Regions from separate parts of the Homo sapiens genome. Here all the other regions are linked to region 3. Evidence: promoter capture Hi-C in 16 types of primary human blood cells and fetal thymus (Javierre and others, 2016). All regions are on one chromosome and are shown on one strand. Each heading gives the region's core, a stretch centred on a gene start or on the middle of the fragment in contact. The rest is flanking DNA. Distances are from core to core; before and after follow the strand shown.

Region 1 (4,847 bases), core at 1,939-4,438, 420 kb after region 3:
GCCAGCAGAACACAAAGGAAGAACCCTCCAGAGTCTCTGTGGGCCTGTTTCTGACCACTTAATTCTGGTCAGTTTCCACAGGCAAGAGCCCAGCTCCATGGGGCTGGGCCCGCCCCGCACAGCCTCCCATGAAGCTGCGACCGGGGAAAGGAGGGTCATGCAGCCCATACTTCACAGACAGACAAATGTGTGAGGCTCTCTGACCACCACAGCTCTGTGGTTCCAGGGGTTTCCAAGCCACTGTTCTGGGTTCCTCACATCAACAGACACACTGCAGTTGAGAAAACACACACAACGGGAACCACCAGGGGTTCGGGTGTAATTTATGAAAACAGCCATGGATCTCCGAATCTGTGACTGTGACTGTGATATGGGCTCCACGGATTCTCTCCTGGTCCATATCTAGGTCTCCTCAAAGGTTCTTTACAGAGGGCGGCTGGCTCTCCCTTAAGAGGCCCAGGAAGTGTGGGACTGGCAGCGCCACCCCATGCAGGCTGCTATGCATGTGGGGCCCACAGGGGGCACGCGGGGGTCACTGTCTAGAGACTCTAGGAAACCGCTCCCTACTCCAAAGGGAATTTGCAAAGATGATGGGGCTAACTCCCCAGAGGAGAGCCAGGAGCTCCCTTTTCCATTTAACACACAAGTTGAATGCCAGATGGACCTAGATCTCTGCAACACGCTGTGTAGTGGGGAAGCCTGCGGGGCTGGGTGGGATCACTTCACCTAATGCAGCACGTATGCCACAAACTCACCACAGCACACCTTAGCCTGCATCAAATCCTGGCCGCTCCTGTTCTGGAGACAAATCACCACTGTTGTCATGATGGGTGACCTCAGTCACCCCACTCCAACGCCCACCTCACGGCTGACATGGCATGTGGCAGGAGGAGGTATGTCACTGTGCTCCCAGAACATACCATAACCCCATCCCTCCCACCCATGCATGTTTATGCTGGGATTGGTCTGTGATGCAAAGGTGCCCTTGGCCCTCTCTCGGGAAGTAATTTTTTCCTTCATGCCCACATGGCAAAAGGCCTGCCTCTCTTGGCATGAGAATCTCTAACAGCCTCAGAGCAAGCCATGCTGATGATGAGCTCTGCGTCCTCACTGCTCAAGCCTAGGTCCCAGACACAACTCCCAAAAGTCAACAGGCTTTTTTTTTTTTTTTTTAAACGAAACAAAACAGAGCCTTGCTCTGTTGCCCAGGCTGGAGTGCAGTGGCATGGTCTCAGCTCACTGCAACCTCCACCTCCTGGGTTTAAGTGATTCTTCTCCCTCAACCTCCTGAGCAGCTGGAACTATAGGCACGTGCCACCGCACCTGGCTAATTTTTGTATTTTTAGTAGGGATGGCGTTTCACCATGTTGACCAGGCTAGTCTCAAACTCCTGATCTCGTGATCCACCTGCCTTGGCCTCCTAAAGTGCTGGGATTACAGGCGTGAGCCACCAAGCCTGGCCCATCAAGAGCTTTTTTAAAAGCTTGATTTTCCAGCTGCAGAAAGCTTCAGAAACTTTTCAACACAAGTCAAAATCCTCAGCAATGAAGGAGAACAGAAAGGTAGAGATTTCTCTTTAAGGTGACTTCAGACTTGAGCCCATAGCCCAGGAGCCCCTCTGCTGATGAAGGAACCAAAGTCAGGGCAGAGAGGGGCGTTCCAGAGCTGGACCTTGGAGTCCTGGTCCTGAAAGTGCTCAGCGCTGCTGTAACGTCTGCCAGGGCTTGGGAGCCTCCATCTCCTACCACGTTCGGCTTCTTGAGTCCTTCCCTGGGTAAAAGGGACCAATGGTTTTTCCCACATGTCCTGCCTCTGACCCCAGGATCTCCTTGGGTGCAGACACCTGGAACGCCTTCTCCTGGTTGCTGCTGGCCCACCCCTCCAGCTCTATGTGCTGTCATCCACACCACCTCATACACACTTTACTGACCCATAGGAAGCGAGTTTCCGATGCGCCTGTTTCCATGATTACCAACTCTCTCACTCAGCTGTGACCTTTTTGTGGCTCATACATCACTGAGTCCTGCAGGATATCAAGTTATGTCTATAACATGATTCCCCTCCTCCCTTTCCTCCGACTGGACTCTAAACTGCAAGTGAACAGGGGATGTGGCCACTCTAAACCTTGTAACCTGCGCAATCATTAGCAGAGTGCCTGACACAAGATGGGTGCTCGGGAAACGCTAACTTGAACTGAGATCTATCACAGACACACAGACATAGAAGAATTATACTGCACCAGAAATACATAAAACAGAGGAGTCACTAACAGTCATAAAAGTGAAATAACTCAGTTTCAGTGATAAGAAATTTGGAAATCTTTCAGTGAACCATTTCAAAATTGAGCTAAACACACATAGGTGGAAAATTAGTTACGAGAATCAAAATTATTCAAGGTAATTATTATTTCCCTTAATTTATCTGTACATTAAAGTAAAAAACAAAACAAAATGAAAACAAAACACAAAGAGTCCCTTGATCCATTTAATTAGTTAAGGTTACTCTCAAAAATGAAAATGATTTCCCCAGCCCCGGGGACGCGCCAGTGTGAAATGAGAACAAGAGTCTTACAGGGAGTGTTCCTGCACATACACGTATGCACTAATGTGCGCTTGGAATTTACCAGAACACACGTGTTTTTTGTTTTACAAATCTATGATGAAACCACACAGGCCTTGGCTTGACACTGTTCCAGGGGCTAAGTCTTAACCTGAATTAACCAAGCTGCACTGTGGTCCAATGACACTTTGGCACTAAAAGAATAACTTCCATTTTTCTGAGGCTGAGCGTTTTCTCATTTCACGCTGTGAGAATCCTCTGGACCTGCCTTAAGAGCACTCAGGAAAGTGGTTACAGTCAAAATCTTCCTCTAAGGATTAGTAATAACACAGGACCAAAGCTCAAAAGCAGGAGAAAGTGAGCACCAAATTCCTTCAGTGTGCTGGAGCACATAGAGACTTCCTGCAGGCAGATAGCAAGAGGCTCTGGGATTATGCCTGCAAGCTAGCCATGCTGCTAGGCTCTTAACAAAACAGAACAAGGACAGCCTGCTGAGCTGTGGCCTGAAGCACCAGTAATGACAGCTCTCTGCCAACGGCAGTGGTCAACACTTCCACCAGCTTGGCTCCAGTGATCTCAGGTCCACCTTTGTGCCCACAAGTATCCCAATTTCTTCAGGACCAGGTGGCACTCTCAGCTGCCTCCACATGAATTAACGAAACTCAATTCGCAGCTTAGGCTTTGGCTCAGCCACGTGCGCATGCGTGCGTGTGCATGAGAGAGCGCGCATGCTGGGGAAGAATGGAGAAAAACAATGAACAAACATTGACTGTCTAGCCTTTTTCAACTGGAGTTCTTAAAATGAAGTGACTATTAATATTTTCTCAATTCTCCTATGAACGGAACATAACAGGTACCTTTCTAGATGCACAGGCAAGACGTTACTACGTTACACACAATGGATGCCCGGCTTCTGAGGCTTACCTCTCTCAGAACTCCGAGTGAGAACAGCTGCCACTGGCTGCACGACCTTGAGCAAATTCCCTAACCTCTCTTGGCCTCTGTTTCTTCATTTTAAAAATGGAGAAAAACCACCACAGGAAGGTTAAGGAACCTCCTCGAGACTCTCCTTATCTAGAAACCTGGGCTGCCTCGCCACGAGCTCCCTCCTTTATAGGGTTGTGGTGAGGATGGAAGTGCCAAAAAGGAGCCGGCACACATGCTCAGTAAGTGACAGGATTTTTTCTTGAAAATCCTTTTCCATCTGGGAAAAGGACCAGAAACTCAGAACTAAGTTCACCTTAAAGGACTATTTTAATTGACTAAGTTAAAAAAAAAAAAAAAGTCTTTCAAAGAATGGTTTCTGCAACCAACTTCCTTCCTCTATCATGTTTCCCCTAGAACGACAGTGCCTTATGTAGTCAAAGAATAAGAGAATGTTAGAGATGGTGAATGGTAATGGTGTCTGGGCCTAGTTCACAATCTGAAAGATAAGCGCTGGTCAAGGAGAAGAGTATTCTGTCTGAAGATCTCAGCTGCAACCAGCAGAACCATAAATGCCCAACAGCCCACTGAGGCCACCTAAGAAGCCTGTCTCCACCCAGGTCCAGCTTCTCTCTTACACAATCGGCAACAGAATGACGCCACACAAGATCATTAAACATTTCAGCAGGAATAAAAACGAAACCAAGAGAATGCACCTGCCAATCTATATCAGGCAACTATGGGGTTTGTGAGCCGTCCTTGCACTTTAATGCAGAATTAGCTTTGATGCACAGATTGGAAAGGTCCAGCTTAAGGGACTTAGAACATCCCATTATTTAATTTTATGACACCATCACTCCACTCTTAAATGTGTCGAAGAACATACACTTATGTTACAATTTATGCCCAAGGGCCAGGTGCGGTGGCTCATACCTGTAATCCCAGCACTTTGGGAGGCTGAGGTGGGTGGATCACGAGGTCAGGAGTTTGAGACCAGCCTGACCAACACGGTGAAACTTTATCTCTACTAAAAATACAAAAATTAGCCGGGTGTGGTGGCACGCACCTGTACTCCCAGCTACTTAGGAGGCTGAGGCAGGAGAATCGCTTGAGCCCGGGAGGTGAAGGTTGCAGTGAGCTGAGATTGCGCCACTGCACTCCAGCCTGGGTGACAAAGTGAGACTCTGTCTCAAAAAATAAATAAAATAAAATAAAATAAAATAAAATAAAAATGTATGCCAAACTACAATGAATTCTATTGCCGAATTTTAAAAATATTCACTTATGATAATGTGGGGCTCACTAGAGTGTCACAAACTCCAGAATGAAAATTAGTGGCTTAGATTACAAACTCTCGTAGTAGA
Region 2 (4,568 bases), core at 1-2,500, 400 kb after region 3:
TGGGACTGCAGCGCTGACTGAGAGGCTGGCAGCTGCAGGGAGGTGTGAGGGTACGCTGCTGCTGGGGAGGTCCCCAGAGGGGCCTGGCCTTGGGAGGCCTGGGGAGGGAGGCCAAAGGGCTGTGGGGGGCCTGGGTGCTGCAGCAGGGGCCCAGCCTGCAGGCTGTGAGGGCCGGGTGGGCCCTGACCGTGCAGTGGGGGCTGGGCATGAGAGGGTGCAGAAGGCTGGCCCGCCGACCCAGTCAGAGGCTGCAGCGGGGGATGTGGCGAGGGATGCGGCGGGGGATGCGGTGAGGGCGGCCGCTGGGGGTGCAAGGCCGGTGCCTGTTGGATGTGGGTGTGGGGAACAGGCGCTGTGGGAGCCTGTGGCTGGTTAGGGGCCTGGGAGGCCGTGGGGGAGCCCTGTGGGGGAACTGCAGTGGCAGAGGGCGTGGGCCCTGGCGTGGGCAGCTGAGGGGTCCCTGGAGGAGCTGAGGAGGGAGCTGGGGTGACCCCAGTGGGAGCCTGCAAGGCTGGGGGCTGGGCCTGCAGCATCTGCTGCTGGGCTGACGAGTCCGAGTCACTCTCATTGTCCTGGGGGCTGGGGATGCTCGGGGACGTGCTGCGATTGTCCTGGTCGATGTCTTTGGGGTCACTGCTACCCTCATCGTTGACGCTGCGACTGTCTGAACTCTCTCCCTCACCTTCAGATGGCGAGTTGGGCCTGCTGATCTCCTGGAGTCAGAGAAGGGAAGGATGGAAGTCCCAGGAGGGCAGAGCCCTGTCTGCTCTGCACCACCAGTGCCGGACACACAGTAATGTTTGTGCAGATGAAGCAGCAAGCTTGGCTCCGGGACCACAGGTCGTGCCCTGACCCAGCCAGTGTCAAAGGCCACTCCAGCCCCACCCTAGGAGACAGGGCACGGCCACCAACTAGGGAGAACCCCGGCTGGGGGCTTCTGAAGAAGCATTAGCTTTACTCAGCAAGGCTCAGCAGCAAACCTCACCTGCGTTTTTGTCTTCTTGGAGCTGGTCCTGTCAGCCTCCTCCGTATCAGAGGCCACCTTCTCCCGCTGGCGTTTGTTACTCTTAAGAGGGGAAGAGGCTTCCTCCTTCACCTTCTGCAGGGGAAAAGCCCACAAGGAGCAATCAGGCCAAGGGAGACCATCCCATCAGCCTCAGCAAGGAAATGACGGTTTGCAGACACTTTGCTCCCTCATTCTGAGTTCCATCTCCAGGAGCAAAAAGCTCTAGAAGGGTCAACTGGGGCCAAGAAGGAACACGTATCTGGGGGTGGGAATGAGAGCCAGCCCTCTGCACCTGTGGGTTTGCATCCTCAGATTCAAGCAACCATGGACTGAAAATGTAGGCAGGACTGTGATGGTTACATCTATACTGAACGTGCACACAATGTTTTCTTGTCATTATCTCCTGAACTAGACAGTGGAACCACTGTTTAAACTGCATTTACATTGCACTGGGCAGTAGAAGTAACCTAGGGATGATTTAGAGTCTACAGGAGGATGTGACTGGTCACATGCAAACCATGTGTCGATGTATATGAGATTTGAGCACCTGTGGATTTTGGTATCCTGGGCGGTGGAGGCTCTGGAGCCAATCTCTAATGGATACCAAGGGAGGACTGTACTTGGCTCTGGAGGGAGCCGTTCTAACCACTCCCCACACTTTCTGAGAACTTGGGAAGCTTGAGGCAGAGGTGGCCCCCAAGAGTTGGTGCTCGAGCCCCCTTCTCTAGGCCCCCAGCCTTCGGTCTGCAGCCCCTAGGCCAGGACAATGCTGGTGTCCAGACAGGCTCCATGAATGAGCTGCATCCTCGTGTCTGAGGGAGCTGATCACGAATACCAGCAAACCAGTTTTAATGTGAGGGAGGGACAGAGTAGGCCCTACTATCCCCCCAGCACCTGACCTTGGCCGACTTCTTCACTGTCTCTGCTTTACTGTCATTGCTGGAGGTACTGGCAGCGCTGGGGGAGTTCCGGCCGCTGGAGCGGATGTCTTCATTGATGGGTGAGGTGCGACCATCAGGGCTGGCTGGCTGCTTCTTCCGACCACTGCGTAGTGTCGACATCTGCCCACCCAAACCGAAGACTGGTGACACCAGATTCCCAGTCCCCATGTGGACCCACCTGAGCCCAACCCACAGGCAGAAGCCTGAAGGCACACCCTATCAGCCTCTCAGCAAATCCCAGACCTTGGCAAACAACAGGCCGCCCTGCCTGTCCCTGGCTGCATGAAGGTCGGTGTGGAGCTCAGGGAAGAGGTGGGGAAATCAGTGGGCTCACGCCAGAGGGCGGTTCTCAAACCTAAAGCACTCATCCCAAGGGACTGTCCTGAACAACGTGTGCTGGAAATGAACCACACTTTCTGAGCGGCAGAAAGTCGCCTGGGGCCATCTTTAAAGCACCCTACACCCTTTCTGTTTATTCCTCATAACCGTCCATTCTCCCAACCAAACCAAATGAAATCAAACACTTGTGGATTTAATCTGACAGGACAGGAAGTGACCCAAAGAGATGAAGCTGTCAAGTAAAGCAGCTCAGCTCCCCAAGCCGCCAAGCGCTTCAGCATGTTTCTGCAAAGCCATGAGGGCTCAGAAGAGATCAGGAGACAATGGTTCTGGCTGGTTGACCTGCTCCCTTCTGAGTGAGCGGGGGCCGGGCTGCCAGCAGCCTCAACGGCATACAAGGGGCAGAGGAAAGTGGATGGTCCCACCCACCTGCCAGAAGGGGCCATAAGGGAGGCTGAAGGGAAAGACCCTGTCAGTACCCTCAGCCCCAAACCTGGAAAAAGCCTCTCCCAAAGTCCCTGGCACATTTCCAACCTAGGAAACAAAGTCTCTTTATGGGAGGAGCTATGCAGTGAGCAGAAAAATGTATCGGAAGTTTCCAAAACGGGATCAAACATTTAAAAAAAATCACAAACACACTAACACAAAAGAGCCTGCAAGTTTAAAATAGCAGAGATTTGATACAATGGAAGTGACACCACAAGCAGCAGCCTTGGAGAGCAAGAGGGGCCTTGGAGAGCCTGCACTGAGCCAGAAGCTAAGAGCTTGCTACAAAACCCAGAGCAGGATGCCACCCTGGGGCCCCTCGAAGGAGAGAACAGAGAACTCTTCCCAGCCCACAGGCAAGCTACCGCCTCGGGCAAAGCAGCTCCCCTCCAGGACTTTGTCTGGTAAACAAGACTTTCGCTTCCTCCCCCTGGGAGGCTCAAGCCCCCACACATCCCAGGAAACTGAAGAAGTTGCCAGGAGCCCCATGGCCCCAGGGGACTCACCGAGCCCCGACTCCGCCGTGTCCTCATGCTATGCTTCCCACTGAGCCCATCATCCTCTTCCTTGACGGGTTTGAACATAAACGGTGGCGGGTCCACGGGCTTCTCAATGGGCGGGAGCTCACCGTATTTCTTGAAGTGGATGCGACAGTCGGTGCAAAGCAGGATGTTCTCCCGGCCTCCGTGGTGCCAATCTTTGGAGGCTGTGTGAGGGAAGTGGTGGGGGCCAACCTTGGAAACCATCCCTCTCCCTGGGGATGTCTGGGCAGAGGGGCCCTTCTGTGGGCTCTACCCAAACCTGATGCCACCAGCACCATGCAGCCCTGGGCCCCAACACCCCAGGGCTAGTGCTGCCCTGCTCCCCCAAGGCCAGGAGAGGGTTTCAGGGGCATCTGCTGCCCACTTCAACTTGGGGTGCCCAGGAAAAGCTGGCAGCAAGCTCCTGGGAACTACAGTGTCAACCCCCCAATCCCACTCAATCTGTCCTGCCTACCAGTCAGTATTCCATACCGACTGCCAAGCAGAGGAGTAAAGTAAACTAAACATTTCTAACTTTCTCGAATCCCGAAGCACAATGCAAATGTCAAATCAAGTACTGTCCCTGGCAGGTTTCCAGCTGGATGCATGAAATGTTCAGAACATGGAAGTGCTTGTGCCCCCGCCCCGCCCCAGGAGCGTGACGAGGCCACTTACTGGTGGTGAAGCAGTGGCGGCAGGCGTACCCCTTCAGCTCCTGCTCACTGTCCTCACTGTCGAAGTCATCTTCACTGGCTGAACTTAGGTCCACTGGGCGTGGCAGGCACATAGTGGGGGTGGGGGAGACACCATCATGCTCAGCCAAGGCTGGGCCGGTGGGGTGGGGGGGAGGGGGGAACACCTGTGACCTCTGGCCTACTGCAGGTTCTGGCCACCAGTCAGAGCGGCTGGGTGCACAGGCTGAGGTAGGACAGTGTCTGCAAAGGACCACTTCGAGCTCCTCAGTGTCAGTCACCAGGACAGAGGGCCTGTGTGTGAGGCGCCATACCCAAGGGCCTGCCCTGCCACTGATGCCCGTAACGGGTGAGTCTGAACTGGGACAAGCGCGTCCATGCTGCCTCCCTCCCTAATACGCCCAGGCAATCCTGAGAAATTCCAACTTCACCGAGCGCCCCCAACCCGTCCTGCTAGGTGATTTCTAGTCGCCTGCATGCGCAACACCGGCGCCCCTCAGGTTCAGCGTCCCGGGCCAGGACAGAGCTATAAGGCACTTTTGCTACACCCCAGTTTTTTAGGGGTGAGAAGGTGTGGGCTCCA
Region 3 (4,412 bases), core at 90-2,589:
GTTGGTGGTTACCAGAGGCCAGGAAGGGTAGCCAGGAGAAGGGGATGAACAGGGTGATTAATAGGTACAAAAATTGGTAGAAGTGCTGGGCAAGGTGTCAAGAGCCCCAGCATCAGAAAGTGGTCGACTTGCTGGTTGGTAAGAAGAATTTATCGACAACAATATAGGTTTGAAAAAGGAAAGTTTTATTAGAACGCTGCAGAAGAGTGCAGCCTCAGCAAGAGAGAACTGAGCATGCCGCGGTGGATTTTTCATGTCCCTTTTCGAATGTCTCATTTTTTGCAAATTCAATCCAAGTTGCGTTCATTTAGCCAGGATCCTTCTAAGCTCATTCAAGAATTTTGGGCTTTAACTATTTCCTTTGATTTAACCTGGTACCAGGTGCCAACTTTAGATAATAGGGATATCTAATTACTTCTAAATTCCTCAGATAAGGGGCCTGCTTGATGGTCACCAGGTGATCTGTGCTCTCCTTAAGAGGGAATAAGACCTAGCGTTGGCAGAGTTCTGTAGGGTGACTATAGTTAACAGTAATCTGTTGTATATTTTAAAATGTTATTATTGAAGAGAGTAACTGGAATGTTCCCAGTATAAAGACAAATGTTTAAGGTGATAGAGATCTCATTTACCCTGATTTAATCATTACACATTATATGAAAGTATCAAAATACCACATGTACCCAGAAAACACATACGTCTCTTACATATCAATAAATACAACTTGAGATTATGATGTAAATACATCTGACCAACTTGGTACTTATTAGACTTATGTGCGCAGCACTGCTCTAGTCCTGTGGGTGCAGCAGCATCAGGATCGTTAAAGAAAACAAACAATGCTGAGAAAAAAACTCACACCCCTGAGACATCCGGGTGTGAATAAATGCGGCAGAGTCGCCCGAGATCGGGAGACCAGGCGTGGGGGAGAGGTCCGGGAGGCCTGGACCAGAGTCCTAACAGACCAGAGGCGAAACGGGAAGGCGCGCCAGAAAAGGAACAACGCAAAGGGAGCAGGCGTGCACGGAGCGCGAACTAAGGAACCCCTCTGACAACCCCAGTCCCTCGGCAGTTCCAGAGACCGGCTCCTCACGGAGGGTGGCGGTAGAGACTGTTAAGCCCCGCGGGCGCCGGGGCAGGCCGGACTGTGCCATTCGTGGGGGGTACCATGTGGGACCGAGCCGCCTCACCCAGGGCTGTCCAGCTAGAAACTCCCCGGTGCCACCCCCGCCTCAGTCCGAGGTAGACTCGGCCGGACGTGACGCAGCGTGAGGCCAAGGCGGCGTGAGTCTGCGCAGTGTGGGGCTGAGGGAGGCCGGACGGCGCGCGTGCGTGCTGGCGTGCGTTCATTTTCAGCCTGGTGTGGGGTGAGTGGTACCCAACGGGCCGGGGCGCCGCGTCCGCAGGAAGAGGCGCGGGGTGCAGGTCAGCGCCAGCGGGGGCGCGGCGCATGTGTGGGCCGTGGCGCTGGGCGGCGTGGGGGTGCTGGACGGTGTCCCTGTGCTGGACGGTGTCCCGCTGGCTCAGAACCGGCGCGGGGCCTGGGTCGGGGCCGCCCTCGCTTCCGGCCTCCCAGTCGGGCCCTGTCGCTGGCGTTGGATTTGACTGACCGCCAGCGTGGTGGCAACGCTGAAGCGTCCAGAATCTTCTGCCTAACCTCTCGCCGGCATGGAACTGGCTAGCCGTTTTATTAAACTCTGTTTTGCGTGGACGGTAAACCCTCCAGATAATCTGTAAATAGGCTAAAAAAAATTCGGAACCTCGTTGAGCTGCTGTCGTTGGCAGTGAGAACTCCGCGCAGAGAGACAGATGTAGTTGGGTTGACTTCAGTGAGGGGATTTCCATCTTTCTCAGTCATTAAAAAAAGTGTTCAGACATTTAACACTGTTGACCCCCACACACAATTTTTTAGTACAGTTATAACTAAGAAAACAAAAATCCCCTCCAAAAAATTACAAGTTAATTGCGAAAGACCACATTTAAATTTTTGCCCATGAAATTCAGTTTAGTCGTTTCTCTGAAACAGTGCTTCAAAAAAGACTGTTTCCCCGCATTGTGTGAAATGCAGGAGACCCACGTACTTGTATTTTTAAAAAACCCATTTGCAACATACTATTAAAGTTGGATTTAAGAGAACATGGTAGAAGAAAATCTAAGCAATACTACACCTTTTAGCACCCTCATTATGTTTTCATCTCAGAGCAATTAAAACTGCTATACAAATCAACGTTAAGATAACTAAACTGCTGCTTTTTTCGTATTCAGTTGTCTATGAAAACCGTTTCCCTAGGAAGTACTTACTCTGCTTGAAAATGCTCCTAAACTTTAAATTTTGGGGTATCTCAGGGTTGCAATGAAAGTTTTTTGAAATCTTTTTTTTTTTTTTTTTTTAAGGCTTGTAAACATATAACATAAAAATGGCTTCCAAAAGAGCTCTGGTCATCCTGGCTAAAGGAGCAGAGGAAATGGAGACGGTCATCCCTGTAGATGTCATGAGGCGAGCTGGGGTAAGTCCCACATCGATTTTTAGCCATTCCTGTTTTAAATGTTTTTGGATTTTTAAATCATTTTGAATAAAATATTCAAAGTGCTCTATGAAATATTTCAAATATACACAAAATTTCAGAGATGACATAAGAATAAATACCTGTTGATCCACTGCTCACATTTAACGCTTGTTAATGTCTTGCCATATTTCCTTCAGACCCATTTCTCTTTTGTTTTGAGCTCTGTCGTCCAGGCTGGAGTGCGATGGCAGGATCTTGGCTCATTTCGGTCTCTGCCTCCTGGGCCCAAACCATCTTCCCACCTCAGCCTCCCAAATAGCTGAGACTACAGATGCGTGCCACCACACCTGGCTAATTTTTGTATGTTTTGTAGAGACAGGGTTTTGCCATGTTGCCCAGGCTGCTCTCCAACTCCTGAGCTCAAGTTGTCCACCCGCCTCAGGCCTCCCAAAGTGTTAGGACTACAGGCGTGAGCCACTGCACTGTCCTTAGACCCATTTCTTTTTTCTTCTTTTTTTTTTTTTTTGAGATGGTGTCTCTCTGTGTCGCTCAGCCTGGAACGCAGTGGTGTGATCTCTGCTCGCTGCAACCTCTGCCTCCCGGGTTCAAGAGATTCTCCTGCCTCACCCTCAGCTGGGATTACAGGTGTCCGCCACCACGCCCGGCTAATTGTATTTTTAGTACAGATGGGGTTTCACCATGTTGGCCAGGTTGGTCTCGAACTCCTGGCTTCAAGTGACCCGCCCGCCTTAGCCTTTTACAGTGCTGGGATTACAGGCAGGAGCCACCATGCCCGGCCCCTCAGACTCGTTTCTTAAAGAGCAGATGCTTCAAAGAAATACATTTGAAGCCCCCTTTGTAAATTTCTCCAATCCTATGCCCCTTCTTCCTTCCTTAAAGATAAGTGCTATCCTCGCACTCTTGTGTATCCATGCATGTGTGTCTTTTTTTTTTTTTTTAAGACAGAGTCTTGCTCTGTCACCCAGGCTGGAGTGCAGTGGTGTGACCTCAGCTCACTGCAACTTCTGCCTCCTGGGTTCAAGCAGTTCTCTGCCTCAGCCTCCCAAGTAGCTGGGATTACAGGTGCGCACCACCATGCCTGGCTAATTTTTTGTATTTTTAGTAGATGGGGTTTCACCATCTTGGCCAGGCTGGTCTTGAACTCTTGACCTCGTGATCCACCCACCTCGGCCTCCCAAAGTGCTGTGATTACAGATGTGAGCTACTGCACCCGCCCCCACGCATGTCTTTAAGGTAGCATTTGACCGTGGTTCTCATTTTGCGTGTTTATATATTATCTCTCTCTATCTAAAAATAGTGAACAGTGAAGTGAAGTAGAACTAACTCTGTGCCAGGCAGCATTCTAAGTGCCGATAAACCTTACAACAATGTCGTGAGTTAGATATCACCATCCTCATTTTACAGTTGAAGAAACTGAGGCACAGAGACATAAATAATGTACCCACATCACGTAGTAAGTACAAAAGCCAGAACTCAGACCCAGGCAGCCTGGCCCCAGAGTCTGTTAACCCTATACTCCTCTGGTTCTCAGAAATGAAGATACATGTCGATTAAGTTTATCCACTTAAAATTGCTGCTTGGTGTTGCACTGAATGCCACAATCTACCCATTCCTCTAATTACAGCATTACAATTCTGTAATACGTATTCTTGTGTAGGTTTCTTTGTGCAAATGTGAGGAAATTTTTCCAGGTTATATATCTAAAAGTAGAATGACTAGGCCGAAGGATAGCCTGTAGTCAGCATGACTAGGTTTTGCCAAGTTGCTCTCCAGTGTCCCAGTTTGTAGTCCCACCAGCAGTGTAGGAAAATTCCCACTTTCCCAGTGCCAGCTCTTGGTATTGTTGACTTTAAAAATTTTTGAAAGATAAAGCAGTATTTCGTTGTT

Evidence for each region. The method cuts DNA at HindIII sites, captures the fragments that hold promoters and counts their contacts. A CHiCAGO score of 5 or more calls a contact.
Region 1: a fragment that was not itself captured here is called in contact with the fragment with the promoter of PARK7 in region 3 in 1 of 17 cell types (naive CD4 T cells); the score reaches 5.4 in naive CD4 T cells.
Region 2: a fragment that was not itself captured here is called in contact with the fragment with the promoter of PARK7 in region 3 in 10 of 17 cell types (naive CD4 T cells, M1 macrophages, endothelial precursors and 7 more); the score reaches 9.1 in naive CD4 T cells.

Annotation. Positions count from the first base shown.
Region 1 is chr1:8,379,185-8,384,031 of GRCh38, forward strand. The region is part of intron 12 of RERE (arginine-glutamic acid dipeptide repeats); the gene reads right to left. Among named protein-coding and RNA genes, the nearest start is that of RERE-AS1, 43 kb to the right of the region's middle. The HindIII fragment of the contact is 3,368 bases long and covers 1,505-4,847 here.
Region 2 is chr1:8,360,778-8,365,345 of GRCh38, forward strand. RERE (arginine-glutamic acid dipeptide repeats) reads right to left here. Exons shown (of 23, transcript NM_001042681.2): 14 at 3,969-4,061; 15 at 3,279-3,478; 16 at 1,906-2,067; 17 at 986-1,099; 18 at 1-713. Among named protein-coding and RNA genes, the nearest start is that of SLC45A1, 45 kb to the left of the region's middle. RefSeq lists an enhancer at 3,884-4,568. The HindIII fragment of the contact is 862 bases long and covers 820-1,681 here.
Region 3 is chr1:7,960,372-7,964,783 of GRCh38, forward strand. PARK7 (Parkinsonism associated deglycase) reads left to right here and starts at 1,340. Exons shown (of 7, transcript NM_007262.5): 1 at 1,340-1,422; 2 at 2,392-2,504. The coding sequence starts at 2,415. RefSeq lists enhancers at 408-1,191, 891-990, 1,192-1,975, 1,371-1,420, 1,621-1,670 and 1 more and a silencer at 1,141-1,240. The HindIII fragment of the contact is 27,976 bases long and covers 1-4,412 here.